4 separate regions of the Homo sapiens genome follow, and all the other regions are linked to region 2. The links are contacts of gene promoters, found by promoter capture Hi-C in blood cells and fetal thymus (Javierre and others, 2016). All regions are on one chromosome and are shown on one strand. The core of a region is centred on a gene start or on the middle of the fragment in contact, and the rest is flanking DNA. Distances in the headings are between cores, read along the strand shown.

Region 1 (7,662 bases), core at 1,457-3,956, 980 kb after region 2:
CATATATATAAATGTATTTGTAAGGTTCCTACTACCTAGAAACATCAGAAGAGGCTGTTCAAGAGAAGCTGTGGGGTACAAAATAAAATTGAAGCATAAGAGGGAAGAGAAAGACCCATCTTCTTAAAACCATCCAGCCTTTTCTGGCAACAAACATCCTGTAACAGCTTCACACAGGCCATGAAAACAAAGCTTTAACATCTTTCCTTCCCTTGTTCAAGATAACCTGGAAATTAAATATGGTTTTGTGTATCTTAAATATGAAAATATATTATTTGCATTCTTCTTCTTAGCAAAAAAGGATTAAAGCTGACCAGAACAACATTTGTAAAAGCTCTAGTAATGACAGTAATCAGCTGAGCAGAACCCAAATCGTGTACTAGCAATGTTCTTTTTCAAAGAAAACAGTAACTAAAGCACTCATTCCAATAATGCTGACAATTCCTCTAGTCCTAGTAACCAGTCTCAACCACAAGATTCCTGGCAGCTGTTAGAATGTACATCAGTAATTAAAGAATATTTCATTTGCATTTTTTTCTCACCAAGATCACATGAAAACCCATTGCATTCAAATGCCGCATTTTCATAGCAAGGAATCCTCTGGGGTGGCTTGAACCCAAACAATAAGCAGATCTGGAAACACATAGCACAGCTACTCTGAAAACAAAAATAAACAAAACAAGAACAGTTATTGATATTACTATTTAGTCTTGCTGCATTCTTGTTCTCTGGAGATTTCCAAGTTGAGCTCTCCACCGACCACAATCCTTGATATTCCTGTCTTAGTCCTTCACTTCTTTTACTTGGCCTCTGCAGATATTCCACTATACAAGGCTACTTTATAAATCAAAAATATACAACATTATACACAGTTACCTCTCAGTTCCCTTTAAGGATGGCTACATTTTTGAAGAGGAAAATTTTCAGACATGAAAGCACCAATTTTAAGGGTTTTCTGTGTAGTGCTGATTTCTGATCTGAGTATAATTATTTATTCTACCAGTAGTAGTAACGGTGTAAATAATACCAAATAGTAAATGCTCTTCTTACACATATCATCTCCCAGAGAAAGCAGCATTTAAAAAACAGAAATAGGAGTTTAAATACAAGAAAGAAAACACCAAGAGAAAGGCAAGACTGTTAAAATAAAATCTGTAAATATAACGAAAATGTGGAAGGTGTAATTTGTTTTTTCATTGTTCCTGGCACTTTGGAAATACTAAGTTTACTGGGAGAAAAAAAGAAAAAAAAAAGACATTTATATCCTTACTGCCTTCACCTATACTCTGGCTGTTATAAGACAAATTTTATGTTTTTAAAGGAATGCTCACATTCTTCACTTCTCATGACTTTATGCTGAGAACAACTGTTATTTTATTATGCCAGAATAGCGGAGTACCCGAAAAAGAAAACTGATCTTGGAATGAGGTCAGAGAGAAAGCCTCTTCTGAGGGGAGATGGGTAGCACTAATAGGAAAGACAGCGGTTGAAAAGATGGCCAAGAAATAAGCTAGATGCATTCAGAAAGAGGTGAAAGTCACAGAACTGTGTGTGAATGAAGAGGGATGGGCAGATAAGAGCTTGGATCCCTACAGATTTTTTTGTATGTTTCTATCATATTTATGTGTGTGTGTGTGTCCAGTGGAGTTAACAGAAGATACAAGTTCCTTGGGGTCAGGATCCATGTAGCAGAGCTTTTACATAAAGGGTAACTGACCCACGGGTGTGTGCAATGATGGCATGATCTTATGCATCTACTGAAGAGGCAGGATGTTCTCTCATGGTATAGCATCATATTTCTCCCCAGAGACACTCTATTTGTAATGTGTGAGCCAAAGAAACAACTTAGGATTAGCTTCAATGTGCTCTAACCCATACAAATACAGTTTAATTAAAAAACTACGGTTTCTCTACCTCTGGAAAAGTCTTGGTGGTAGAGCAAAATATTTATTGGGTATTTGATTTTTGTAGAAGCCTCGAGTCTTTATTCTTTATGATCACTATTATATTATCTTGTCCAAAGTCTACACTGCATTGATAGTTTCAATTATATTAATATTGTTTTATTGAACTATAGCTTCAAAACCTAATTTTAAAAAAATGTCTGTCTCATTAAATGACCAATACTGTAGTCCATTGTATTCAACCATAACGTCCACATTTACACTTTCTAAGGAGTACATTGATGGATGACAAGTCTCTTGGTGTGCTGCAGGCTCCATACAAACATCAAGTCTTAGATTTACTACTGCTATTTAATATGAAGTCTTTTAGAATTAGGATTTTAATTCAGAAAGCCCAGCAAATGAAATATATGTAAGCAACCTTTGAATATCTGTAGCAGAAGTTGTATCCACATCAGAAAGTGGTAGCACTTGATTCCTGTTAGTGTCCATTCTGATTTCAAAATCTGAAAGGAAAGAATTGATATTAATTTTTCAAACATTCCTCCAAGTGACTTTCTTTTTCTTTTCTTTTCCTTTTTTTTTTTTTTTTTGAGATGTGGTCTCGCTCTGTCATCCAGGCTGGAGTGCAGTAGTGTGATCTCAGCTCACTGCAGCAACTTCCCAGGTTCAAGCAATCCTTTTACCCCACCCTGTTGAGTAGCTGGGACTACAGGGGCATGCCATCACGCCCATCTAAGTTTTGTATTTTTTTGGTAGAGACAGGATTTTACCATTTGGTCAGGCTGGTCTTGAACTCCTGAGCTCCAGTGATCCACCTGCCTCGGCCTCTCCACATGCTAGGATTACAGGCGTGTGCCACCGTGACCAGCCCCAAGTGATTTTCTGTTTCAAAATGTTTAATAGTACTACCAATAATGATAATAGCAGTAGCTAAAATATATTGAGAGCTAACCATGTGTCAGATACTAGTCTTGGGATTTTAGACACATAAAAATGTGTAGAATTTCATTTATTGGTCACAAGAATTTTATGAGGCAAGAATCAGGCCAGTTCCAGAGGCAATGCTGCACTACACTAAACTGCTGCCACAAATACCTATTTTTTTGGTCAGAAAAAAAGGAAAATAAATACAATAAAATGAAAGGAAATCATATAATGTCCCATACCAATATGATAATTGTGTGGCAAGTGCACATCCTTTGAGAAGTGTCCTTCACCTCCCAGAAGGCTGCTCAGCACCTCTGCCACCTTTGCATTTGTATGTGACGATGGCAGCTCCCGCGGCAGCTGTGGGAGTGACAAGGCTATGTCCCTCAGATAGACAGTATCATCAAGTTTTAGACAAGTATCCAAAGTATGCAGCTTGTAAGCATTCTTCATGTCATCTAAAAGATGAAAAAGAGAGTATATCATTAAGAAGAAATAAATGCAACATTAAAAAACTATATTAGTATATATTTAGTAATAGTTATAAAATAATAAATATATACATAAATGCACTTGTATTTCTAATTATCTCTTTCTTATCACAAGGACTCTCTCTTTGTCTCCCTGGTTTCCACAGGGTCTAAATCAAAGCCCTGCACTTGATAATGTTTTAAGGCTTCAAATATCTTTAGAGGTCATTTAGTCTAAACTCCTCAATTTATGGATAAGGAAATGCCCAGGAAAGTTAAAAAGCCTCGTAATTAAGGCAAAGTTGGAACTAGAATCCAGGTTTCCAAGGTTCAAGGCTGTTTCTCCATTATTACACTGCCTGAAAAACCAGCACGTGGTATTATTGACTGACTCTCTACAACTCAACTTTGGGATTTTATAACATTTATTTATTTATGTTTTAATTCTGAACTACTCTATTCTCAGACACATCGTCAAATTTTGTACATCTACCTGAATATTGCTTTGCCTTATTTAATACTAAAGACTAAAAGTCAACAGTTAATTTGGTTCCAAGAGTAAATGAACTAATTAATTTGGTGGCTATTTGGTTTCTTGATCTAACAGGTGTTCCCTCATCACAGGCCAGGAGTGACCAAGTGTTTACAGCTGCAAAAATTGACTTAGGTTGGCTTCAAATGTGATAAGTAAGGATTAGGAATTAAAACAGCTCTGATCAAAGCATAAAGAACAGCCTGAACAGTTAGCCTTTGTATAGAAGGATAGAGTATAAATAAAAGGAATAATGATGCATTCCTTATTTTTTTCTACATGTAGGACTTGTCATTAAAGAAGGGTCTGTAGGTTTGCTGCTTTGAAGCACTATCCTTTGACTTCACCATTATCAGCCCTTTCCACAGCAACACCTGCTCTGCAAATTTCAACTAACACTGCTCCAACTAAGACCCCATTCAGAGTCATATGGTAGCTAGTGGTAGTGCAGAATTGGTCACAATTGGTGACCAATTCTGCACTAACATCCTACCTGATGTCAGCAGCTCACTGATGATGTCTTTTTGCAGAAGCTGATTAAAAGGAGCCAGGGGAAAGTAATTCATCAAGCAAAATGAATATACTGCATCCAATAAGTTTTCAGAAGAAATAGTGTGAAGATAACCAGTCAGAGCACTAGCCATAACTTCCACGAACTGTCTGGGGAACAAAGAAAAGTCAGTTTCCCAACATATACAGAAGGCCAATATCTGTAACGATTCCAAAGAAAAGAGATAAGAAAATCAGCCTTGCAAGTAAGTATCCACACATCATTCTGGACAGTTGGTTATCTCATAATAAGTGTATACATTCAATAAATGTTGGCTATTGCTGTATGTCTTGCACGAGACAAACATTTTATAGACTTTAACTCATTTAACTCACACTAAAAAACTCCATGGGTATTACTATTATTCTCCTCATTTAAAAAAATGGGTAAACAGGCTTAGAGATTGAGTAACTTGTCTAAGAACACACAGACAAGGAAGTAGCAAAGGCAGTATTAGAACATAAGGTGTCAGGCTCCAGAACCTTTTCATAATTATGCTAGATTTTCTATAACGCCTGGACCACCACTACAGTTTTATAACCAACTAAAATTATCTAGTTATCAATACTATGGGTTAAAAGAACTGCAAGCCTAATCCTACCACCCACAGCTAATGGTACACAGTATAACGTGGTTAAGCACAAATGAAGACAGAAAAGATCAAAATCAGGGGCAGTCGCTTGCCCAGAGTGACACCACTAATAAATGGTAGATACCCTTTGAACACACGTCAATCTGATTCTCAGGGCATATGATACATATAGTTATATAAAAAAAGAAATACATGCAAAGTACTGTGATCTCGCAGAGGAAAGAAAATAAACAGAAGCTTTTGGGAGGAGAATTTGAATAAGTGGAAAAGATGGAATAAGGGAAGAAGATTTGAGCACAGCCCTGAAAGCACATGCTACTTGCCTGATAGTGAATAACTGGTGAGATGAAGGTACAGAGGAGTGTTTCTTAACAGCTGGGGCAAATATGCCTGGACACAAGCCCTTGTTAACAATGAGACTGAAATCAACTGAGAGGTCCATGGGTAGGGGAAGAAGTGTTGGGGAGGATGAAGGGCTGTGATAAGGCCAGGAAAACGATAGGAATTATGATGAAATGGGAGGAATATAACAGATCATATACGCAATAGCAAGGCAGCACGTCTGAAATTAGTACTGACTGCTTTTGGAACATGCAGTGGGATGCGGGGGCAGGGGATGGTGTGGACAAGGAAGTTGGGAGCCTGGGTAATGATCCCCCCTCTGGTCTTCTCTTGCCCCACTCCTCACCCTGTACCTCATGCTTCAGCAGCCCAAACTGTGTGCTGTTCCCTGCATGTGCTCTGCTGTTTCTTTCCTCCAGGTCTTGCATATAGAGGGCCTTTCACTTGGAATGTTCTTTCCTGCTTATCTTTCCATGGTAAAACCCCATCTCTCCATCTTTTAAGATCAGCTCAGATACCAACCCCTCCAGGCAACACTGCCTGATATCCCCTGACCCTCCTCTTCACCAGGCTGGCATCCTGATATATCCTTCCTCTATTTCCAAATATCCTAGATGATATGGTTTGGCTGTGTCCCCACCCAAATCTCATTTTGAATTGTAGCTCCTATAATTCCCTTGTGTTGTGAGGGACCCAGTGGTAGATAGCTGAATCATGGGGGTGGTTTCCCCCATACTCTTCTTGTGGTAGTCAATAAGTCTCACGAGATCTGATAGTTTTATAAGGGGAAACCCCTTTTGCTTGGCTGTCTCTCTTGTCTGCTGCCCTGTGAGATGTGCCTTTCATCTTCTGCCATGATTGTGGGGCCTCCCCAGCCATGTGGAACTGTGAGTCCATTAAACCTCTTTCTTTTGTAAAGTGCCCAGTCTCGGGTATGTCTTTATCAGCTGCGTGAAAACAGACTAATATGCTAGATCACTCGAATTTTCATGCTATATTTAACTGCCAATTTACATATCTACCTTACCCATTACACAGAATCCTCTGGCAAGAAGGACTGTCTTATTCATCTTTCTCCTAAGTGTCCAGGTGCTTGGCAAATGCTGACTAAACGAACAAATAAACTTTGATGAGGAAGACAGGAGGACGAGCTTGTCATTGGAAAACGATGAGTCAAGAAAAATAGCTGACTTCCAGAATTACTGAACTTGAGACACTTCTGGGATGTGCAGTGACCATATGCAACCCACAGAGACTCAGGTCTGGAGTTAAGGAGCACACTAATGACCACAGATGCAAATGTGGGATTATCCATAAGGTGGTAAATACAGATCAAGAAGAGAAGAAACCAAAGGACCAAAACAACAGAGCTTAAACGTTACATATTTGTTCCTTGGGTTCAAAGCCCAGCAAGATACTCTGGATTTAACACCCTCTCCCCGATGGGCCATCATAAATGAAATAATGATTAATGTATAGCATGTGGGTATACAATAAGCCAGAATTCCTACCACTCTCCTATCTAACCATCTCTTCTAGTCAACTCTCTTCCCAAATACTTTGAGTTATTCTGCTTCCAAAACCTTTGCTACTCCAGATAAGTTGCCATCTTCCTTTCTCCTTCCTCCATAAAGCACTTACTTGGTGCCTACCATGTACTGCCTTCCTCTGGATATACAACAGAGTTGTTCTCATAAATGGTCTAGGAAGAGCAGGGAATACAAACTTCTTTTTTTATAGCCTTCAAAATACCAAATCCAGGCAATTGTACATTCATGGGCATTCAGGAAATGGTGACTAATTAATCTTGCTATATCTGCCATATTGCCCCTACTTCTCCTTTGGAGAAATGTTGAGGTGGGAGGCTTAGAATTAGGTAAGGGTTTCTCAATCTCAGCACTACTAACATCCGGGGCTGGATAATTCCTTATTGTGAGGGGCTATCTTCTGCATAGTAGGATGTTAGCGGCACCCCTGGCCTCTGTCCACTAGAGGCCAGTAGCACAGACCTCCCTCCTGTTGTGGCAACTAAAAACCATCTCCATACCTTGCCAAATGTCCCCTGGGAGGCAAAATCATCCCTGTTTGAAAACCACTAGGTTAAATGAAAGCAGAATAGACAGACAAAAAGACAACATTCATGATTCTCCTCCTGTACTAATTCTACTACTGCCATTTTATTAAATGTCCTCCCAGCCTTTGTTACCTTTGTTATCCCCCCTCTATTTTCAATGTAACAATTTTGTTGGAACAAGTTATCTCTCAGGTTGCCTGGAGTCACCTGAAAAACTCTTACCCGCCCAGTACTTACTCTCTTAATCCCTCTGGGGCTGTTTCTGGAG
Region 2 (7,148 bases), core at 4,649-7,148:
AGTGATCAGAGATGCTGTAGGACATGTTGGGAGCTAGTCTGGAAATACCTGTGAGGAACTTGGGTTGGCTGGTGGCCTCTATCCTGAGCCAGCAAGTGTGCACATACATGGTTACTGATAATCAGGAGTGTGCACTTTGATCCTGGGCAAGTGACACGATCCCTGCTTTGGCACTAAATTTACCAATATCTAAGTGCCAGAGATAGCTGGTGAGAGCCTGCAGTGTTCTCAGAAATAAAGTACACCTGGAAAAAAATAGTTATTTTTTCCCTTGTTAAAGTAATATACAAAAGAAAATACAGAAAACTGGAAAAACAGAATGAACCTTAGAAGAAACTAATAATAATAGCCAAGACCTATAGAGACTCAGGGGCTAGACATGGTTCTAAGCTCTTTACCATATAAATATACTTACTCCTCACTATAGCTCTGGGAGGTAGATAACTATTTCTAACTCTATTTTACAGAGAAGTAAGGGGGCCTGGAGCTGTTAGGTGACTTGCCCGAGGTTGCCTAGCTTGTAAAGGCAGAGCCAAAATTTGGACTTAGGCTTCATTTAACAGGACCTGGTCAACCTCAGAGGGAGAGTTCATCTGAATTCAAGGACTGAATGCCAGTTGCTAAAATTGAAAAAGTTAGTATCAGTTGTCATTCACTCATTTATTTATTTCACAAATATTTATTGAAGGTGTCTAGATGTAACATAATATTCCAGGCTTGATTATCAAGATATTGAATAGTATACATACAAAGGATACCTGTTCATTCATTCCTACAGCATTGAACTCTCAAGAATCTCAACAAAATAATGCATGTATAAACAACATAAATGTAGAAAGTTTTTTTTTTTTTTTGAAGACAGAATCTTGCTCTGTCGCCCAGGCTGGAGTGCAGTGGCGCAATCTTGGCTCACTGCAACCTCTGCCTCCTGGGTTCAAGAAATTCTCCTGCTTCAGCCTCCTGAGTAGCTGGTACTACAGGCGCCCGCCACCATGCCTGGCTACTTTTTTGTATTTTAGTAGAGACAGAGTTTCACCACGTTGCCCAGGCTGGTCTCGAACTCCTGAGCTCAGGCAATCTGCCCGCCTCAGCCTCCCAAAGGGCTAGGATTACAAGCATGAGCCATTGTGCCCAGCCAAATCTAGAAAGTTTTAAAATGATGTAACTGTTCCCTGATGGCAAAAATCCAAAACCAATACTTCAAAACTTATGGAATGTCACACGCCTATTAGATGGAATATTTAGCATTATCCTTTGTATTTTCATCAATTAATAAACACAATTTGGACAATAATTCCAGTTGAATTTCATGAGTTTGGCTTCATCAAATTATGTTTTGTATGGCAGTAGTGTCTTCAACTCAGAAATTTGACATTTGGCGAATGGATGGATTAATCGATAGATGGACAGATACATGAGTGAATAAATAGACAAGGATGCTTAACAATGTTCTAAATGCTTAAACATTGCATCTTTAAAAAAATTTGGCCAGGCACAGTGGCTCACACATGTAATCCTAGCACTTCTGGAAGCTGAGGTGGGAGGATTGCCTGAGTCCAGGAGTTCAAGACCAGCTTCAGCAACATAGTGAGACCTGGTCTCTACAAAAAGTTTTTAAAAAATTAGCTGAGCATGGTGATGCATGCCTGTAGTCCCAGCTACTCAGAAGGCTGAGGTGGATCACTTGAGCCAAGGAGGCAGAGGTTGCAGTGAGCCAAGATCGTGCCACTGCATTCTAGCCTGGGTGACAGAGCACGACCCTGTCCCCCCAACCAAAAAAAAAAAAAAAAAATTCAGTGTTTTCTAGTTTGTTGGGTAATAAAGTATGACTCAGGTGAAAATTGTGAGATATTTTATTTTTTAATTGACAAATAACAATTGTATATATTTATGATGTACCACATGATGTTCTGACATATGTATACATTCTAGAATGGGTAAATTGAGCTAATTAACATATGCATTACCTCTACATATTTTTCATTATTTTTGTGTGGTGAGAACACTTAAAATCTACTCTCTTAGCAATTTTCATTTACAGTATGTTGTTACTGAACTGTCATCATCACGGTGTGTGAAAGTTTTTGACTCCATAGACTAAATAAATAACTTCAAGCAAGTCATCAAAGTCATTATAGCACCAGTTTCTTCATCTGAGGATTAAACGACGTCTAGCACCCTGCCTAATACATGTTAAACAGCCAGCATATTTTAAAGTGCCTTCAAAATATAGACAAAAAGCAACACAATACAATACAAAAACATATACGATATAAAATGTCTTGCTCTCTCCTTTTTTTTTTTTTTTTTTTTTTTTTTAGAGATGAGGTCTCACTATATTGCCAAGGCTCGTCTTGAACTCCTGGGCCCTAGTGATCTTCCTGCCTCAGCTTCCCAAAGCGTTGAAATTACTGGCATGAGCCACCTTGCCCAGCTGAAATAAGTTTCTTTCCATAAAGTTCTCTGCTATCACTATTATTATTAGAGATCTCCAAGTAAAATTAAGATTTTGCTGTTGATGAAGAAAAGGTTTACAAACCAGTAGATAACATTGTTTTCTTCAGAACCTTTACTGGAAAAGGGTCCTGATTCAGACCCCAAGAGAGGGTTTTTGGATCTCATGCAAGAAAGAATTCCGGGCGAATCCATAGAGTAAAGTGAAAGCAAGTTTGGTAAGAAAGGGCCGAGCGAGGTGGTTCATGCTTGTAATCCAGCACCTTGAGAGTCCGACCGAGGCGGGCGGATCACTTGAGGCCAGGAGTTCCAGACCAGCCTGGTGAACATGGCGAAACCCCGACTCTACTAAAAATGCAAAAAATAGCAGGGTGTTGTGGCGTAGGCCTGTAATCCCAGCTTCCTGGGAGGCTGAGGCACAAGAATTGCTTGAACCTAGGAGGCAGAGGTTGCAGTGAGACGAGCTTGCACCCCCACTGCACTCCAGCCTGGGCGTCAGAGCAAGACTGTCAAAAAAAAAAAAAAAAAAAAAAAAAAAGAAGGAAAGGAATAAAGAATGGCTACTCCATAGACAGAGCAGCGGCATGGGCCGCCGGTTGCCCATTTTTATGGTTATTTCTTGATCATATGCTAAACAAAGGGTGGATTATTCATGAGTTTCCGGGAAAGGGGCGGGCAATTCCCGGAACTGAGGGTTCCTCCCCCTCTTAGACCATACAGGGTAACTTCCTGACGGTTGCCATGGCATCTGTAAAATGTAAACTGCTTTGGCATTGGTGGGAGTGTCTTTTAGCATGCTAATGTATTATAATTAAGTTACAATAAGCAGTGAGGACGACCAGAGGTCACTCTCCTGGCCATCTTGGTTTTGCTGGGTTTTTGCCGGCTTCTTTACTGCGCCCTGTTTTATCAGCAAGGTCTTTATGGCCTGTATCTTGTGCTGACCTCCTATCTCACCCTGTTGACTTAGAATGTCTTCACCTCCTGGGAATGCAGCCCAGTAGGTCTCAGCCTTATTTTACCCAGTCCCTATCCAAGATGGAGTCGCTCTGGTTCAAATGCCTCTGACAGAACCGTGTGAAATAACACAAATATTCTGGCTAAATTCCAGTGTGAGTGATTAACATTCTCCAACTTCAAATAATTTTTATTATTAGCCAACACTTGTCCATCCCCAGTAATACACACGTTGCATAAAGAGCACAGAATGAGATGGGCCTCCCTTGGCATGTTCATAGTCTGCACATACTTTCCACTGAGGGCTTCCCTTTCTTGCTCACTGCTATGCCCACAGCTTTTCAACTCCCACTATTTTCAACCCTGGGATGCTTCCTGACCCAGAGTGGCAAGTAATTCCAAAACACAAGAGATAAAATATGAACACCTGTAGAATTCCAGAGAAAGAAAGATGTAAGGTATATTTATTCATTTATTTAATTATGTATTTTAGAGTTGGGGGTCTTGCTATGTTGCTCAGGCTGGTCTGCAAACTCCTGGGTTCAAGCCATCCTCCCACCTCAGCCTCCCAAAGTGTTAGGATTACAGGCGTGAGCTATGGCGCCCGGCCTTTTAAACGTTTATTAATAGTTTTGATATCCGCGAAGTGATTGATATTTGTTCCTTTTTAACTTGGAGGCTGGGATTAACACACGTGTTCTTCATTATTGCCCACAAAGCGTTGTTGATACGCAGGAGGGGAGTGGCACTTCCGCAATTTATTCTTCCAACCTGTGCCAATGGGATCCAGCACAGGAGATGGACAGTAACCCGCGGTTGATCTGGATCTAGTCCAGTTAGTCCAGTCCCTATCCCTTCAAGTGTCCCCAGGCCCTCTTGCCTATTTTCGCCCTTTGCCCAGTGGAAGGAAAAGTTTGGGGAGAAGGAAAAAATTTAAACCCTCTTCCTAGGCGTGTGAATGTATTTCAAGTATGCTAAATACCTCAGTCTTCCAATCTAATTACAACACATAGAAAAGAGGCATTTTTAGGACATTTAAAACTTGTAGCATAATTGCGCAACTGAAGAGCGCCGCCGTGTCCCCGCCATCGGTGCGCCCTCCGACCCCCCGCGGCGCGCAAGTGCGCGGCTTAGCAGCAGGCAGCCGGGGACGGAAGGGCACGGGGAGGCCGGCGCCCTGCCCAGCACAGAACCCTGGGTCGGTATCGCTTCTCTCTGCGGGCGACTTCGGAACTGCCTGGGATTATAAACCTCGACCAATAAAGGACTCACATCTTTCTGGGTCTTCTAAAGGCAGAAAGAAATCCATTTTCTTGTCACAACAAGATTTTGTTAAGAGATGCAAAAGTAAAGGTCGAAGCCAGGGAGGCTGCGATAGTATGGGGGGAGGGGCGGCTACGATGGTGAGTGCCGCTGACCAACTACCTGGGTTCGAATCCCAGGGTTGCCATTTGGGCGGCTACTATGTGCCAGGTGATCGGAATACGGAGGTGAACTTGCTTGCCGAGGTCGCCCTTTCTTGGGGGAACTATGATTAGCTCGGTTGCCTTGGCCAAGTCTCAGTCTCGGTTTCTTCACCTGTAGGAAGTACCTGCCTCAGAATTGTTGTAAGGAGTGAGATCTTGTCTTAAGATGTAAACGGGCCGGGCGCGGTGGCTCACACCTGTAATCCCAGCATTTTGGGAGGCCGAGGCGGGCAGATCACGGTGTCAGGAGTTCGAGAACAGCCTTACATGGTGAAAGCCCGTCTCTACCAAAAATACAAAAATTAGCTGGGCGTGGTGGCGGGCGCCAGTAATCCCAGCTACGCAGGAGGCTGAGGCAGGATAATCGCTTGAACCCGGGAGACAGAGGTTGCAGTGAGCCGAGATCGCGCCACTGCACTCCAGCCTGGGAGACAGAACAACTCGTCTCAAAAAAAAAAAAAAAAAAAAAGGATGTAACCGATTAACACTTTGTTGGGCACACAGTAAAGGGCTCAGTAAGTATCCTCTCTTCTTTCACACAGTTCCAAGACAGCTCGGAAGGGAGACAGCCACGCCTAAGAGTGATTCCTTGAGCAGTTCTTTCAAAGAAGCACTGAACTCTGTAAGGACGCTTAGCTGCAGGCAGAAAGGGCAGGGGCCCTGGGAGCAAAGGTGCATAAGCCAGGAAGTTACAGGAGCGAGTCCTGCACCCAGGGCGCGGGCAGAGAACTCCGGAGGGACTTCTGGCAAGGGCTTCCCGCCCGGGTGCCCAGAGCGGCATGATTAGCATTCGCCCCGCCCCCATCTCCTCCAGGCCCGCGATTGGTCAGCGCTCCTTGGCTGCCCGCTCCTGGCGGGGCCAGAGGGCGCCGGGGGAAAGGCCGAGCCCGCGGGGCAGTGGGCGGGGACGCGCGGAGAGCTTGGCGAGGCGGCCCACCAACCGCGCCCGGGCCTGAGGGGGCGGAGCCGGGGCGGGGCTTCCCGGCGGGCATTAGAAGCAGGTGACCCGGGCGGGGCGGGAGAGGGCAGCCAGCCTGCGGCCGTGAGTCCGCTGTGGTCGCCGCCGCGCGCGGTTCCGTGCTCGCCAGAGGTGGGCGAAAGGGTGCGAGAGCGCGGGGGAGGAGCCGAGCAGGGCACGTCCCGAGAGCGTCGCCACCGCCCCCAGGAGTCCACTGGAGCGCGGAGCCCCCTGCAGGGGAGGAGGCGAGCGGCGGGCGGGACGCGGCGGCCGGCGCTCACCATGCAGTCCCGGCCTGGCCAGCGCCGGCTGCTCGCGGTGCTGTGAGGCGGCGGGGTCCCACGGCCCCCGCCTCCCGCCTTCCTCCCGCCCAGGTGCTGCCAGGCGCGCTCGCCCTCCGTCCGGCTCCCGGCCCCGGGGAGAACGCACGGCCTGCCCCTGCCCGGCTCCGTCTGGATCATGCGGGGGGCTCCCGAGGAGGAGAGGGCGAGTGACCGGCCTGCGCCGCCCCTGTTCTGGGGGCGCCCCCCACTCTGAGTCGCCCCCACCTGCTGCCATGTGCCGCTGCCACGGGTACCCAGCCTGTCGCTAAACTTTCCGGGCGCCAGCCCGGCTCTGAGTCGCGCTTCTCAGCGGAGTGACCCAGGGACGGAGGACCCAGGCTGGCTGGGGACTGTCTGCTCTTCTCGGCGGGATCCGTGGAGGTGAGAACCTTCCCTTTCTCCCTGTTCTTCTCCCGTTTCCTGTGCCCTTTTCCGGGAAGCTGAGGGTTCTGGTCTCCGGGCACTGCCTGAAGGGCCCAGCTTGGAAAGAGAGGGTGGGGGAGTCGGTAGTTTGGTTACAGGAGGCGGAGCGGGGAGGAAAGGAAAGGGGTTAACTTAAGAGATTTGGAGACAGCTCGCGGGGACCGAACTGTTGACGCCTCTCCAACAGGGAGTGGTTGCAATCTTTCTTCTCCCCCTTCTTTTTTAAAGAGTCCTTTCCCTGGAATCCGAGCCCTAACCGTCTCTCCCCAGCCCTATCCGGCGAGGAGCGGAGCGCTGCCAGCGGAGGCAGCGCCTTCCCGAAGCAGTTTATCTTTGGACGGTTTTCTTTAAAGGAAAAAGCAACCAACAGGTTGCCAGCCCCGGCGCCACACACGAGACGCCGGAGGGAGAAGCCCCGGCCCGGATTCCTCTGCCTGTGTGCGTCCCTCGCGGGCTGCTGGAGGCGAGGGGAGGGAGGGGGCGATGGCTCGGCCTGACCCATCCGCGCCGCCCTCGCTGTTGCTGCTGCTCCTAGCGCAGCTGGTGGGCCGGGCGGCCGCCGCGTCC
Region 3 (7,631 bases), core at 2,551-5,050, 960 kb after region 2:
ACTGTTGTGGGTATTGATGGCCAGGCTTCTAAACCTCTTAAAACTCCCCAACTCTGGTGCCAACTTAGACAATACTCTTTTAAGCGCTCCTTTTTAGTTATCCCCACCTGCCCAGTTCCCTTATTAGGCTGAGACACTTTAACTAAATTATCTGCTTCCCTGACTATTCCTGGACTACAGCTAAATCTCATTGCCACCCTTCTTCCCAGTCCAAAGCCTCCTTTGCGTCCTCCTCTTGTATCCCCCCACCTTAACCCACAAGTATAAGATACCTCTACTCCCTCCTTGGTGACCGATCATGCACCCCTTACCATCTCATTAAAACCTAATCACCCTTACCCCACTCAATGACAATATCCCATCCCGCAGCATGCTTTAAAAAGATTAAAGCCTGTTATCACTCGCCTGCTACAGCATGGCCTTTTAAAGCCTATAAACTCTCCTTACAATTCCCCCATTTTACCTGTCCTAAAACCAGACAAGCCTTACAAGTTAGTTCAGGATCTGCGCCTTAGCAACCAAATTGTTTTGCCTATCCACCCCGTGGTGCCAAACCCATATACTCTCCTATCCTCAATACCTCCCTCTACAACCCATTATTCTGTTCTGGATCTCAAACATGCTTTCTTTACTATTCCTTTGCATCCCAGCCTCTCTTCGCTTTCACTTGGACTGACCCTGACACCCATCAAGCTCAGCAAATTACCTAGGCTGTACTGCCGCAAAGCTCACAGACAGCCCCATTACTTCAATCAAGCCCAAATTTCTTCCTCATCTGTTACCTATCTCGGCATAATTCTCATAAAAACACACGTGCTCTCCCTGCCAATCGTGTCCGACTAATCTCTCAAACCCCAGCACCTTCTACAAAACAACAACTCCTTTCCTTCCTAGGCATGGTTAGCGCGGTCAGAATTCTTACACAAGAGCCAGGACCACACCCTGTAGCCTTTCTGTCCAAACAACTTGACCTTACTGTTTTAGCCTAGCCCTCATGTCTGCAAGCAGCGGCTGCCACTGCTTTAATACTTTTAGAGGCCCTTAAAATCACAAACTATGCTCAACTCACTCTCTACAGTTCTCATAACTTCCAAAATCTATTTTCTTCCTCATACCTGACGCATATACTTTCTGCTTCCCGGCTCCTTCAGCTATACTCACTCTTCGTTGAGTCTCCCACAATTACCGTTGTTCCTGCCCCAGACTTCAATCCGGCCTCCCACATTATTCCTGATACCACACCTGACCCCATGACTGTATCTCTCTGATCCACCTGACATTCACCCCATTTCCCCAGATTTTCTTCTTTCCTGTTCCTCACCCTAATCATGCTTGATTTATTGATGGCGGTTCCACCAGACCTAATCGCCACACACCAGCAAAGGCAGGTTATACTATAGTACAAGCCACTAGCCCGCCTCTTAGAACCTCTCATTTCCTTTCCATCGTGGAAATCTATCCTCAAGGAAATAACTTCTCAGTGTTCCATCTGCTATTCTACTACTCCTCAGGGATTATTCTGGCCCCCTCCCTTCCCTACACATCAAGCTCGAGGATTTGCCCCACCCAGGACTGGCAAATTAGCTTTACTCAACATGCCCTGAGTCAGGAAACTAAAATACCTCTTAGTCTAAATAGACACTTTCACTGAATAAGTAAAGGCCTTTCCTACAGGGTCTGAGAAGGCCACTGCAGTCATTTCTTCCCTTCTGTCAGACATAATTCCTCAGTTTAGCCTTCCCACCTCAATACAGTCTGATAACAGATGAGCCTTTATTAGTCAAATCAGCCAAGCAGTTTTTCAGGCTCTTAGTATTCAGTGAAACCTTTATATCCCTTACGGTCCTCCGTCTTCAAGAAAAGTAGAATGGACTGAAGGTCTTTTAAAAACACACCTCACCAAGCTCAGCCACCAAAAAGGACTGGACAATACTTTTACCACTTTCCCTTCTCAGAATTCAGGCCTGTCCTCGGAATGCTACAGGGTACAGCCCATTTAAGCTCCTGTATAGACGCTCCTTTTTATTAGGCCCCAGTCTCATTCCAGACACCAGACCAACTTAGACTGTGCCTACCTCCCCAAAAAAAAACTTGTCATACTCCTATTTTCTGTCTAGTCATACTCCTATTCACCGTTCTCAACTACTCATACATGACCTGCTCTTGTTTACACTGCCAGTTTACACTGTTTCTCCAAGCCATCACAGCTGATATCTCCTGGTGCTGTCCCCAAACTGCCACTCTTAACTCTTGAAGTAAATAAATAATCTTTGCTGGCAGGACTATGCTGAATCTCCTTAAGCACTCTCCAATCAGATATCCTGAGTCGTCCCAATTCTTAGACCTTTTATACCTGTTTTTCTCCTTCTGTTATTCCATTTAGTTTTTCAATTCATACAAAACCGTATCCAGGCCATCACCAATCATTCTATACGACAAATGTTTCTTCTAACAACCCCACAATATCACCCCTTACCACAAGACCTCCCTTCAGCTTAATCTCTCCCACTCTAGGTTCCCACGCCGCCCCTAATCCCGCTTGAAGCAGCCCTGAGAAACATCGCCCATTCTCTCTCCATACCACCCCCCCAAAATTTTCACCGCCCCAAAACTTCAACACTATTTTGTTTTATTTTTTTTATTAATATAAGAAGGCAGGAATGTCAGGCCTCTGAGCCCAAGCCAAGCCATCGCATCCCCTGTGACTTGCAGGTATACGCCCAGATGGCCTGAAGTAACTGAAGAATCACAAAAGAAGTGAATATGCCCTGCCCCGCCTTAACTGATGACATTCCACCACAAAAGAAGTGTAAATGGCCGGTCCTTGCCTTAACTGATGACATTACCTTGTGAAAGTCCTTTTCCTGGCTCATCCTGACTCAAAAATCACCCCCACTGAGCACCTTGCGACCCCCCACTCCTGCCTGTCAGAGAACAAACCCCCTTTGACTGTAATTTTCCTTTACCTACCCAAATCCTATAAAACGGCCCCACCCTTATCTCCCTTCTCTGACTCTTTTCTGACTCAGCCCGCCTGCACCCAGGTGAAATAAACAGCCATGTTGCTCACACAAAGCCTGTTTGGTGGTCTCTTCACACGGACGCGTGTGAAAACCAACATGGAGAAACCCCGTCTCTACTAAAAATACAAAATTAGTCGGGCATGGTGGTGCACGCCTGTAATCCCAGCTACTCAGGAGGCTGAGGCAGGAGAATCTCTTGAATCCGGGAGGCGGAGGTTGCGGTGAGCTGAGATCACACCATTGCACTCCAGCCTGGGCAACAAGAGCAAAAGAAACTCTGTCTAAAAACAAACAAAAAAGAGGAGTCCTGAATTGTTTAAATAAGGGAGAAGAATAACATTGATAACATTGTCAGATCTGGGTTTTAGGCAGAACCTTTTTATGGGTAGCAGAGACGACCAAAACAAGTACAAGTAGTCAATCAAAAGTCACCGATATGTCCAACAAGAGAGCCTGCTCTCCCCAGGACAGAGTGAAAGCCCAGTGGCCTCACAGGCACGAGTGTCTGGGAGCACTGCAGGAAGGAAGTCAGAATCCACTGGACTCCACAACTTCCTGATGAGTGAGAAAAATTCTGGAAAACTGTCAGCATTCTCTCAGAAGGTGAGCATACCGATTGCAGAGTATTTCTACCTTTCCAAGCTTGGCAATAGTACAAAAATGAGGTCGATTCTCTTCACTCTGTGTAACTCACACCACCAGATGCTGATGCCCTTAGACTCTTTCACAGCTACAGTTCCCCAAATCATTTATATCCAGAGGTCAGGCATATGGAGCTCATTAAATTCCATACAGCAACATTGTAACCATGTGAAACTTTTTGTTTGCAGTGCAATTTAATGTTGAATTTGATTTATGAGGCACTGCACATTCTTAGTCCTAGGATGACAGCATACACTTCTACAAGCTTAAGTCATGGTTTGGGGCAAGGGGGAAGGCCTTTGACCAGATGTTGGAATTGGAAATCTGGGCTTATGCTAAGCATTTGCGAAGAAGGGAGAGCACCACATCTTAGAGAAGGTCTATCCCAACTTGACTGTTATATCACTGAGGAAACCAAGACCTAGAGAATTTCTTTTCCTTTTTCTTTTCTTTTCTCTCTTTTTTTTTTTTTTGAGACAGGGTCTCCCTCTCTTGCCCAGGCTGGAGTGCAGTGGTGCGATCATGGCTCGCTACAGCTTCAACCTCCCAGCCTCGAGCAATCCTCCCACCTCAGCCACCTGAGTAGCTGGGATTACAGATGTATGCCACCAAGTCCAGCTAATTTTTGTATTTTTTTTGTAGAGACAGGGTTTCACGATGTTGTCCAGGCTGGTCTCGAACCCTTGGGCTCAAGCAATCTGCCCACCTCTCAAAGTGCTGGAATAACAGGCATCCTAGAGAATTTAAATGACAGAGGCAGTGGCTGGAACCCAGGTCTCCTGATTCTCAGCCCAGTGGCCCTCCTTCTCTCTCCCTTGCCTCTCTACTATTCAAAATACAAAAATGAAGAGAAAATGGGCCTTTCTTATTCATGCGGAAATTCATTCCAACTTGACAGAAAGGTACCCATGTAAAATGTATTGTTAACTTCATATCCTAGTATATAAATAAGAGAAAATCAATAAAGCATTTGTTTGAAAATGACTTGCTTTCTGTTTGGTTGGTACAAAGTTATATCATATATGATATATGGCTCTGGAATCAAATCTAAAAATTTAAATTACTTGCTCAAAGCCACATGGCTGATAAGTCTAAGTCTGAATTTTTTCATCTATAAAGTGGGCATTAATAATACTTACCCCAAAGTTGAAGTGTTTCATTTAATCAACCTTTGAGGAAAATGCTTAAAAGATAGTGGCTATTGTTGTATTTTATGTGGTATCTGTTGGTTTGGGCTTCAAATACTCTTCCCGGGAGACATGCCGTACACTTATTCCCATGATGCTGTCATTGTTCAAAATATTTGGATGCACTTTTCTTCTGGAACTGCCTTCTGAGTTAGTTCTTATCTGAAGAGAAAAATTAACTCTTCATGCCTATATTTAATCAAAAGGAATGTAACTTAGTTTTATCAACTTCATTCACCAAAGCTAGCTGGGAGGTACTTTTAACCATTTGTTTAAACCAAAGCCAGATACAAAAGATGAAGATTTGCCATGATTGAGAATTTGCCCACAAAATTTTGCTTCCTTAAGTGAAGGGGATACATATTTTACTTGCTGGACCGAGCTCAGAAACCTTGGGAAAGTCATAAGCCACGGAACCAAACCCTGTTCCAGAGCTGAGAAGGTGGAAAACGGGTGTGTGGATGACTCAAGGTCAGCCCTTGGGAAGCTGGAATTCTCTGGAACTTCTGAGAAAGAAAGACAGCCTCTCAGAAACAATTACATGGGAATTTTCACAAGCTGGGAAGATCCCTGTAGCTCTAACCAGGATTTGTTCTCATTCTGTGGGAGGAATGGAAGGAAAAAGAAGTCTTTGAGAGCCCTAAGCTCCTGAACTTGAATGCAAAGCAGGCTTTGGAAGTCAGAAGAGCACTGGGCCACTCCTATCTCGTCCTTGTTCAGGATAAATGTACCCCCTATACCATGCGTTTCCCCCAACACACACCACACACACACACACACACACACACACACACACACACACACACACACACACACCACTAAAGAATAGACTTCCTGCCTCTGTGCTCTACCAGAAACTTTCAGCATCTAGGGTTAGCATCTTGCCTTCCATTTGCACCTCAAACATTTCATTCTTCACGTTGTTATCATTATCACCCTATCATTACACTGCTGGTTAATCATGATTAAAACAATAAACAAATAATTTTTCCCTGGTGAGCATAAATAATTGCAGATGAATACATATTGTTCGGGCCCATGTAACATTATATGCTATTACAGACAGTATGAGAGGATGTTTTATTGTAAGAGATAATTTTTCCTAATTGTAATGTTTACTCCCTTCAGATTCTAACCTTCTGAAGGCCCAACAAAGTCACCTAGAGGGAGTTTGCAGCTCTTGCCTGCAGTTTAGGGAAAAGTGGCTTTTCTACTTGGTGATAACTCTAAAGTGAAAATGTGAAACCAAGTGGAAGAGGCCAGGGGGTGCTTTTTCTACCAGATGTTAAAAGAAAAAGAACACGCAGGATCTAAACTCTAGAGTGAGCCTCACTGCTGGGGGTGACAGAGCAAGAAGAAATCCAGGGGTTCATTCGATTAACTTGGAAGGCTCTTACTAGGGGACACTAGTTTATTGAACAGGCTGGGTCAGTAGCTCCAGCAGGCTGGAAACAGCTCCATCTTCTTCCCTCCCTTGCCCATCACACTGGCTCTGCCAGCTCTCCCTTCCCACCTCAGAGAGGCCATCTCCGGCATATGCCAGAGTATTTTTGGTTGCACATGGCTATTAGCAGAGCCTCATTTTAAGGTATTAAAAAGCTCATCACCTGATCTATTCTCAAAATATGCAGCTCTCACCCAATCTAAGATTCCTTCCTTTCTTCCAGCTCAGTAATGAGCAGCAGGGGGAGGAGGCTGTGGAATCTTCTTTTGCTGTTTGCCCCCCTTGCTCTGTTTTCTGCTCCTCCTGCCCCGCTCACTGTGCTGCCTCTGGCATCTCCAGGGCCAGGTGGGGAGGAGGGACTAGAGGTAAATGGGTCTATTCACTGGTGACCTTGCAGTCTGCGAGGATGCCCTTTGTGTGCTAGATGCTCAAGTGCTGGCTCCTCCTCACATGAGTGACTTTTGTGGGTTCTTAAGAGACACCCCTACTCCCACCTCTCTTTCCATGGCGTGTCTTTCTTACACCACAGCATTCCCTGACCTGACCCCCACAAGGCACTCTCAGGCTGACTGTGAAGACCCCATACAGCCTCTTTTTGCTGAGATTTCTGAGCTTTGGCAGGACGTCCTCTAGGACAGGTGCCTTTCAGGATGACTCAAGCCTGCTAGTTTCTTCAGCATTCGTTTAATCCACAGGAAATATTATGCATCCATGCCATCCCTTCTCCCCTGCAAAACTTGGAAGCCAAAAGCCTTCTTACAGCCACCTGTTTTTGCTCTGCCATCAGCAGCAGCTCCAGGCAGCCTTCTGCCTTTGGGCTTTTCCAGGCAAGAGTCAGGCTTCTATCTCCAGTCACCTTCCCACACCTCCTACTCTCACCTCGCACTCCCACCCCCGACCAATGTTTGAAGGGTCTACATCAAGCTCTCAAAGGAACTTGGAGTCCAGGCTTCTGGGTGTCACTTCATGAGTTGTGCCTCTACCCCACTGAGTGAACAAATCTAAGCCACCGAACATACCCTGTGGGATTGGGGTTATGCCCCCACCCTTCCTCTCCATACACTGGGCCCCATGCATGGCAGGTGGCTCTGTTAAAGATTACTGACCATTTTTCTCTTGAGACTATTGTAGCTTTTACAGCGCTAAAAATTTTAAGCATAACACCCTTCTCTACCATCATCTTAGGCAATTTACAGAGATAAATTTATGATTTTGCATCTATAGCACATGAAGTATGGATTTTTAAAGATTCATTAGAATATATAATTCTCACATAAAAACATTTATACTCATAAACAGTATTTCCATAAAGATGATCTCATTAGATATAAAGTT
Region 4 (7,071 bases), core at 1,347-3,846, 540 kb before region 2:
ACACTTTTACACTGTTGGTGGGACTGTAAACTAGTTCAACCATTGTGGAAGTCAGTGTGGTGATTCCTCAGGGATCTAGAACTAGAAATACCATTTGACCCAGCCATCCCATTACTGGGTATATACCCAAAGGACTATAAATCATGCTGCTATAAAGACACATGCACACATTATGTTTATTGCGGCACTATTCACAATAGCAAAGACTTGGAACCAACCCAAATGTCCAATAATGATAGACTGGATTAAGAAAATGTGACACATACACACCATGGAATGCTATGCAACCATAAAAAAGGGTGAGTTCATGTCCTTTGTAGGGACGTGGATGAAATTGGAAATCATCATTCTCAGTAAACTATCGCAAGGACAAAAAACCAAACACCACATGTTCTCACTCATAGATGGGAATTGAACAATGAGAACACATGGACACAGGAAGGGGAACATCACACTCTGGGGACTGTTGTGGGGTGGGGGGAGGGGTGAGGGATAGCATTAGGTGATATACCTAATGCTAAATGACGAGTTAATGGGTGCAGCACACCAGCATGGCACATGTATACATATGTAACTAACCCGCACATTGTGCACATGTACCCTAAAACTTAAAGTATAATAATAATTAAAAAAAAAGAAAGAGACATAAAAAAGTTAAAAAAAAAAATCGCAAAAAATGTCATAATGTTTTAAGAAGTTTATGAATTGGTGTTGGGCCAGATTCAAAGCAGTCTTGGGCTGCATGCAGCCCACAGGCCACGAGTGGGACAAGCTTGATCTAAATAAAGCAAATTACCCACTGCTTTTCCTCCAAACAGTGATCACAATCTGTGAGAACAGGCTTTCTCATAGCTGACTTGTCAAGAAGAGGAAGCAAGAAAGGAAGAACCTATCTCTGTTTGGGTTCCCAACTCATCTCCGATATAACTCATCCTTTCCATTGACCTTTCACTTCCTATGCGTGGCTTCCATGACTCCTAAGTGCGCTGCTAACAAAGCAGACAGCAAAACCTCCTACTCCTCACCTAGCACCCCTCAGGGTAATGACTCTTTTCAGATTACCATTAAGACAAAAATTACAATCAGTCCTGCCTCATCAGTTCCTAGCATTAGTAAAACATTAGCAGAGCTCACTTTTTTGATGTGGACAAACTGACGGATATCCATGTCATCATCCTGGTTCTTGACATCAGGTCGGACTGTCTGAACAACCTGGCAGACCAATGACACGATGATGTCCCTCCAAGATGATGACAGTGAGTCACTATGGAGCAACTGCTGGAGTAGTGCCATCATGTGGTTATGATTAGCTGAACTACAAAAATATTATAAGAAAGAAGTTTGCATAGTTAATACTGCCAGAGACAATAATTCTGATGATAAAACAAACAGCCTACAAAGAAATAAACATTTCAATTACGGCTCACAGATAAGATTTTCTAGGTCAATATCATTCTTTCATTATATCTGTACCTTAAGGATTTTGCATATAAATGAAATCTGAATATCTTCCACTAAGAAGTCCCCTGCAATTGACTGAAATGAAATTTTAACACGTAAAATGGGGACAGACAAGCACAGTTTGGGGCTTTTGTTTTTGTTTTTTTTCTCTGAGACGAAGTCTTGCTCTGTTGCCTAGGTTGGAGTGCAGTGGCGCGATCTCAGCTCACTGCAACCTCCGCCTCTTGAGTTCAAGCAATCCTCCTGTCTCAGCCTCTGAGTAGTTGGGATTACAGGCCAGCGCCACCACGCCTGGCTAATTTTTGTATTATTAGTAGAGACGGGGTTTTACCATGTTGGCCAGGCTGGTCTCAACCTTCTGAGCTTGTGATCCTCCCGCCTCAGCCTCCCAAAGTGCTGGGATTACAGGCGTGAGCCACTGCACCCAGCCGGGGCTCTTGGTTTTATAAGAAATTTAATCACAAGTCAAAATAGACTGTATTTCCTAAGTAACCTTAGTATTTTTTTACTTTCTAAGGAAAAAGAAAAAGACCTCCCTTTTTAAGAGGAATGATGCATATGCTTATCAAGTCACTGAAGATAATAAAAGTGAAAAATTAAAATTAAAAATTTCATTGCCTTACAGCAACCTCTCCATGGCTTGTTTCTCCCCATTCTCCTCCCTCAGGAGCTCCAGGTTGTTATGATGCCAGCCCAAAGGTGTGAAAGGCAGCTCTTTGGATTTTTCCTCTACTCGGCGATTAAATAAGGATTCTAAGTACAATATAAAATAAGAAGTTATTACTTCATTGTCCTGTTTTATACCATCTACTCATATATTTAGAAATTGCCCTTTGTCTTTATAAATGTTTTAAGTTAGCCAACATAAATTATTGGTGTAAAAAGGCAAGAACATGTAATAAACATATAAATAAAATGCATAAGAAAATACTTACAAATACATAAAATACACTAAAAATACAGAAATGCAAGAATTAAGAAGAGCAGTAATTGGCAACAGCCAAAATCAGAAACAGAACTGTGAAAATCAAATGTACGTAACTAAGACTCTCAAGCCAATAATTATAAGCACAGCTTCTGAAAAGCAAATAAAATGAAACTTTTGCTTCTCCTTTTAATTTTTAAAAACGAGGGTGTTAATTTCCCCTTTAAAATCACAAACTGGGCCGCGCGTGGTAGCTCACGCCTGTAATTCCAACACTTTGGGAGGCCGAGGTGGGCAGATCACCTGAGGTCAGGAGTTCGAGACCAGCCTGGCCAACATGGCGAAACTCCATCTCTGCTAAAAACACAAAAATTAGCTGGGCGTGTTGGCACACGCCTGTAATCCCAGCTACAAGGGAGGCTGAGGCAGGAGAATCACTTGAACCTAGGAGGCAGAGATTGCAGTGAGCCAAGATCGCACCACTGCACTCCAACCTGAGTGACAGAGCGAGACTCCATCTCAAAAAAAAAAAAAAAAAAATCACAAACTGAAAACTGCATTCAACAGAAATCTGAATGCTGGCAAAAGAACACATGATAGCGAGAGTGATGAATTTTCAAGAAAGAAGCTCAGCTCAGATATCACAAAACAACAGATGACAGTGTAGAAAGTCTATTCAGACAATCCTCAATAGTGTTTCTCTTTCAATATTGGCACAGGGGTTTTTTAACAAAATTTTAGCAAGACAGACTCAAAAACATAAATATTAAAACATAATAAATAGCATTTATGTAGAATTTGTGTAAAATCTTTAAATTTTTTAAAGGATGAATGAAAATAGATAAGACAAAAAATAAATAATAAATGCTTAACAAAAAAATATGTTCACTAAATAACTGTTGAATAATCTGACCAAATAAGTGGAAAGAAAAGAAGTGGGAAATGCTTACAAAAATTCTCTAACCTGTCCCCTCTTAAAAGCAAAACAAACAAACAAAAAAACTTCCACCAAACAGCCCAGCAGATTACACAGTAAAGTATATGTCCATGACATGTGAAGTACAAGAATTGCACATTTCAATTACATAAAGGGCCACTCTGTAAACTTCTAGCCGAACCAGATGCTTGGAGATGAATTTAGAAGCACTGCCAAGCTATCAGATAAGCTGCAGTGGCTCCTTGTACCCGCTTGCCTTCTCTCTTTGATCTGAAACCGTGGGAGCCAAGAAGGAAGAGAAATTTTCTCCCATTATCTGAGGCCTAACCAGTGGAGTACTATGGACTAAGAATGTCTTTACTCTAGGAAGCTAAGCTAAGCTAAGTAGGGAAGGAATAGGAGAAGGCTAATCTCCTTTTGTGTCCAAAAGAAATTTATCATCAGAGTTAGTTCTTTAACCTCTACTGCCTGCTTCTCTTCCTCACTCCACAGGGCAAGCAGCATCCTTAACTGGAGATCTGCCTGTGGGCTTTTTGACAAATTTGACAATCCTTGATGATATTTATATCAATACTTAATATTATATTCACAATACAGTTAAGTGTAAACTATGTCTTTAAAAGAATTAAGTTCAAATTCTACTTAAAAGTTTTTAAACAATTACTTTTCACATCAGAGACCTCCTTCTCGCAAACCAAGTCCAAGTTTACATTCTTGGTTCTCAACATTCTCTAAATCATTATATATATTAAAAACTGTGTTCCCATGATACCACCATAATCAAATATATTTTCAGCACCTTCTCTGTGCTAATCAATGTGCTAAGCCCTAAGTATATCCTCATGAAAAAAAGAGACACCATTCCACATACAGCTTTTTATAAAATTACCTTTGATGAAAGCGTCACTTATTGAGAGCTGTTGTCCTCCAGTGTCAGAAATCAAATACTCTGCATACCAGGGAGACAACAGAGAGGAGGAACAAAAGTAGAGACATATGACTATAACATGTCAGCATAATTATATAGAGAATACGCCCACACACAAAATATTACTCATACTAAACCCATCACTGCCCGGCAAATTCAAGAAAGCTTTGGGTAAAAATGCCTCTTTATACTTGTTCTATGCACTTCATACTAAACTTAAGCAGACTTGCATTAATAACACAATAGAGCCGTGAAAACAATTCTCCTTAATTCAAATGTCAGATAGAGAAATGTTTTTCTCTTACCAAAACCAACCGGTTTATGAAAATTAAATCTTCAGATACTTGTACGACCATCCTAAAAGATTACAGTTCTTTTCACATGTAACTTGATGATTTAACAAATAATCACTTTGCCTATGCACAAAGCAGTTCATACAGAACCCACCTGATAAAACAATATAAACTTTTTTCAAATTTCAGAATATAAGCTATAAAACAAATTAATACAGAAGTGACATTGGCAGGAATAAAGATAAAACTCATCAGTATTTGTATTAGTTCCAAATAAGTGTTTTTGTTTTTCAAAAATTATATCAAACACTGCCAAATTTTTGCTAGACATTAACTGAACACACTCTGAATGCTTTTAATATATTAAATACTTTTCTTACAAGTGAAACTTACTCTTTACTTCCCCGTGAACTTTCTCTAGGTCTGTGACCAAGCATAGCTCAAATGAGGTTCTTTCCACTATGCAAATTAAAACATGATGCATGTAAACTCCTTTACGGTAAAGGATCTCCACAAAATTTTCTCCAAGTACATTTATAAACAACTGGGCTTTAAAAGTTACTATGTTTATAAGCCAATATGCTCATCCTTCCAACCAGGAAACAAAGAAAATATTTTATTTAGAAAGTTCAAGTGCACTATGCCAAATACAATAAAATCGAGTATGTGGGCAAGATAGATGTTACACTTTATTTCTACTCTTCCCTCACAGGAATGAGTAACACCAAATCCTATTAGTTCAATTAATGTATTGTTCTTTACCAGCCTTCTCACACTAAAGCTTAATTGTATCTATATGAGACTCCAGAAATGGTGGATTTTCCCCATTTAGTTATGAAAAAAATTCAAACCTACAGAAAATGCTGTATACCATCCACCTGAGTTCAACAATTGTTAAGGATTTGCCATATATGTGTATGTTTCTTCCCCCCGATCATTCAAAGTTACACACATCATGACACTTTACCACTAGGACATCAGCACAACTCTCATAAAAATAAAGGTATTCTTCTCTATAGCCACAAAATTATTTACATATTTGAGAAAATTAACAATGTCTTAATAGCACAGAATTAGCCCATACTCAAGTTTATCCAACTGTCTCCAAAATGTTTTTAATCCACAGTTTTTCTTCTTAAGCCTCGATGCAATCAAGTTCACACATGGCATTTGGTTCCTGTATCTCTTCATTCTCTTTTAATCTAGAACAGATCTCCTGTCTTTTTTTCTTTTCATAACATGAATTTAAAAGAACCCAGGTCAAATGTTCTGTGCAATGTCCCACATTCGGAGTACAATCCATTGTTTTCTCATGGTGTGTTTAACTTGCTCCTCTATCCCATGTTTTCCTATACACGGAAAACTACATCTAGAGATTTACGGAAGCCGTGATTTTCACCTTCTTCTCTAGGTTTTACTTGCTAACTTTCCAAGAATAGTTCAGAATCCTGCTTGTAATACATAATAAAATATATTTTAACTGTACAATTCTCCAAGACCAATAATGAAAAATTAAGCCAGTTTTACGAGCTTCTGAAAATAGGGTTTTCTCACTTCAGACAGAAAGCATAAGTAGTATTTTTTAAAGTACAGATATTTCAACCAATTTTATAAATCCAATTTTCCTCAGCCTGAAACAATATAGGACAATCCATAAGAAAATATTTAATAAGTACTACCTTTAATTTCAATGTAAAGATAAAAACCATTCCCATTTGTATTTATACAAAGGGAATGAAAACCAGAGGCAAAAGAATTCTATTATTTTTTCACGTAACTACCAGTCTCCCTGGAAATCTTTATTTTCTGATAATCAGTGTTCATCTTGACTATAACACTCAGCAAACTATTACGCTTCAACTTCACAAGAAAAAATGTAAAAAGAATAACTCGTTAGTATGTTAAAAACTAAGAGAGAACTGTGAAAGCCAGTAATATTTATTAAGAGACTTTTAAAGTCTTCAAATTATAAGACTGCAAATGACCTAAGAGGTCAATTTAATAATTATCTTCTTCCTAATGCTGGAACCTCCTCTGTAATATTCTCACTGAGTAGGCTAAAGGATTATAATTTCTTTTTAATTCTAGATCTAGATTTTTCAGTTCACAGATTTAGAATTAAAAGAAAACTTAGAAGTCCCCAAGTCTATATAACGCATCACCCAATGCAGGCATCTGTCCTCAATAACCATGACAGGTGGACATTCAGACACAACCTGGACACTTACCATGCACAGTGGCAAAAGTTCACTACTCCCAACTACTGAATCTAGTTCTTCCTTCAGCCATATGCAAAATAAATATAATTTCTTTCAGGTACTCTTCAGATACCTAAAGGAAACACCACGTCTTTTTTCCATTTTAAATAGTCCAGCTTTCCTTAGCATGGTTTTCAGATGTCTTAGGATCCTGGCAACCTCGTTCTATTCATAAATGAGAACTGAACACAAAACAGTAAATTGGATCCTCATTCTAGACATTATATGGCCACTAATGAAATCTATTATTGCCCTAGGGAGTGCCAGGG

What was found. The method cuts DNA at HindIII sites, captures the fragments that hold promoters and counts their contacts. A CHiCAGO score of 5 or more calls a contact.
Region 1: a contact is called between a fragment that was not itself captured here and the fragment with the promoter of FZD5 in region 2, in 1 of 17 cell types (total B cells). The highest score is 5.2, in total B cells.
Region 3: a contact is called between a fragment that was not itself captured here and the fragment with the promoter of FZD5 in region 2, in 1 of 17 cell types (non-activated CD4 T cells). The highest score is 5.4, in non-activated CD4 T cells.
Region 4: a contact is called between a fragment that was not itself captured here and the fragment with the promoter of FZD5 in region 2, in 1 of 17 cell types (M0 macrophages). The highest score is 5.0, in M0 macrophages.

The regions. Positions count from the first base shown.
Region 1 is chr2:206,783,567-206,791,228 of GRCh38, reverse strand. FASTKD2 (FAST kinase domains 2) reads right to left here. Exons shown (of 12, transcript NM_001136193.2): 8 at 4,330-4,496; 9 at 3,074-3,292; 10 at 2,326-2,410; 11 at 543-657. Among named protein-coding and RNA genes, the nearest start is that of MIR3130-1, 4.1 kb to the right of the region's middle. The HindIII fragment of the contact is 5,023 bases long and covers 195-5,217 here.
Region 2 is chr2:207,768,656-207,775,803 of GRCh38, reverse strand. It overlaps FZD5 (frizzled class receptor 5), which reads left to right and starts at 5,898. Exons shown (of 2, transcript NM_003468.4): 1 at 5,898-6,539; 2 at 6,810-7,148. The coding sequence starts at 7,065. RefSeq lists silencers at 3,066-3,541, 5,598-6,277, 6,618-6,677, 7,088-7,147 and enhancers at 4,013-4,833, 4,998-5,047. The HindIII fragment of the contact is 9,976 bases long and covers 1-7,148 here.
Region 3 is chr2:206,802,320-206,809,950 of GRCh38, reverse strand. No RefSeq gene overlaps it. Among named protein-coding and RNA genes, the nearest start is that of MIR3130-1, 23 kb to the right of the region's middle. RefSeq lists an enhancer at 2,391-3,218. The HindIII fragment of the contact is 265 bases long and covers 3,668-3,932 here.
Region 4 is chr2:208,309,437-208,316,507 of GRCh38, reverse strand. It overlaps PIKFYVE (phosphoinositide kinase, FYVE-type zinc finger containing), which reads right to left. Exons shown (of 42, transcript NM_015040.4): 13 at 4,213-4,272; 14 at 2,085-2,214; 15 at 1,135-1,315. Among named protein-coding and RNA genes, the nearest start is that of PIKFYVE, 47 kb to the right of the region's middle. The HindIII fragment of the contact is 3,644 bases long and covers 775-4,418 here.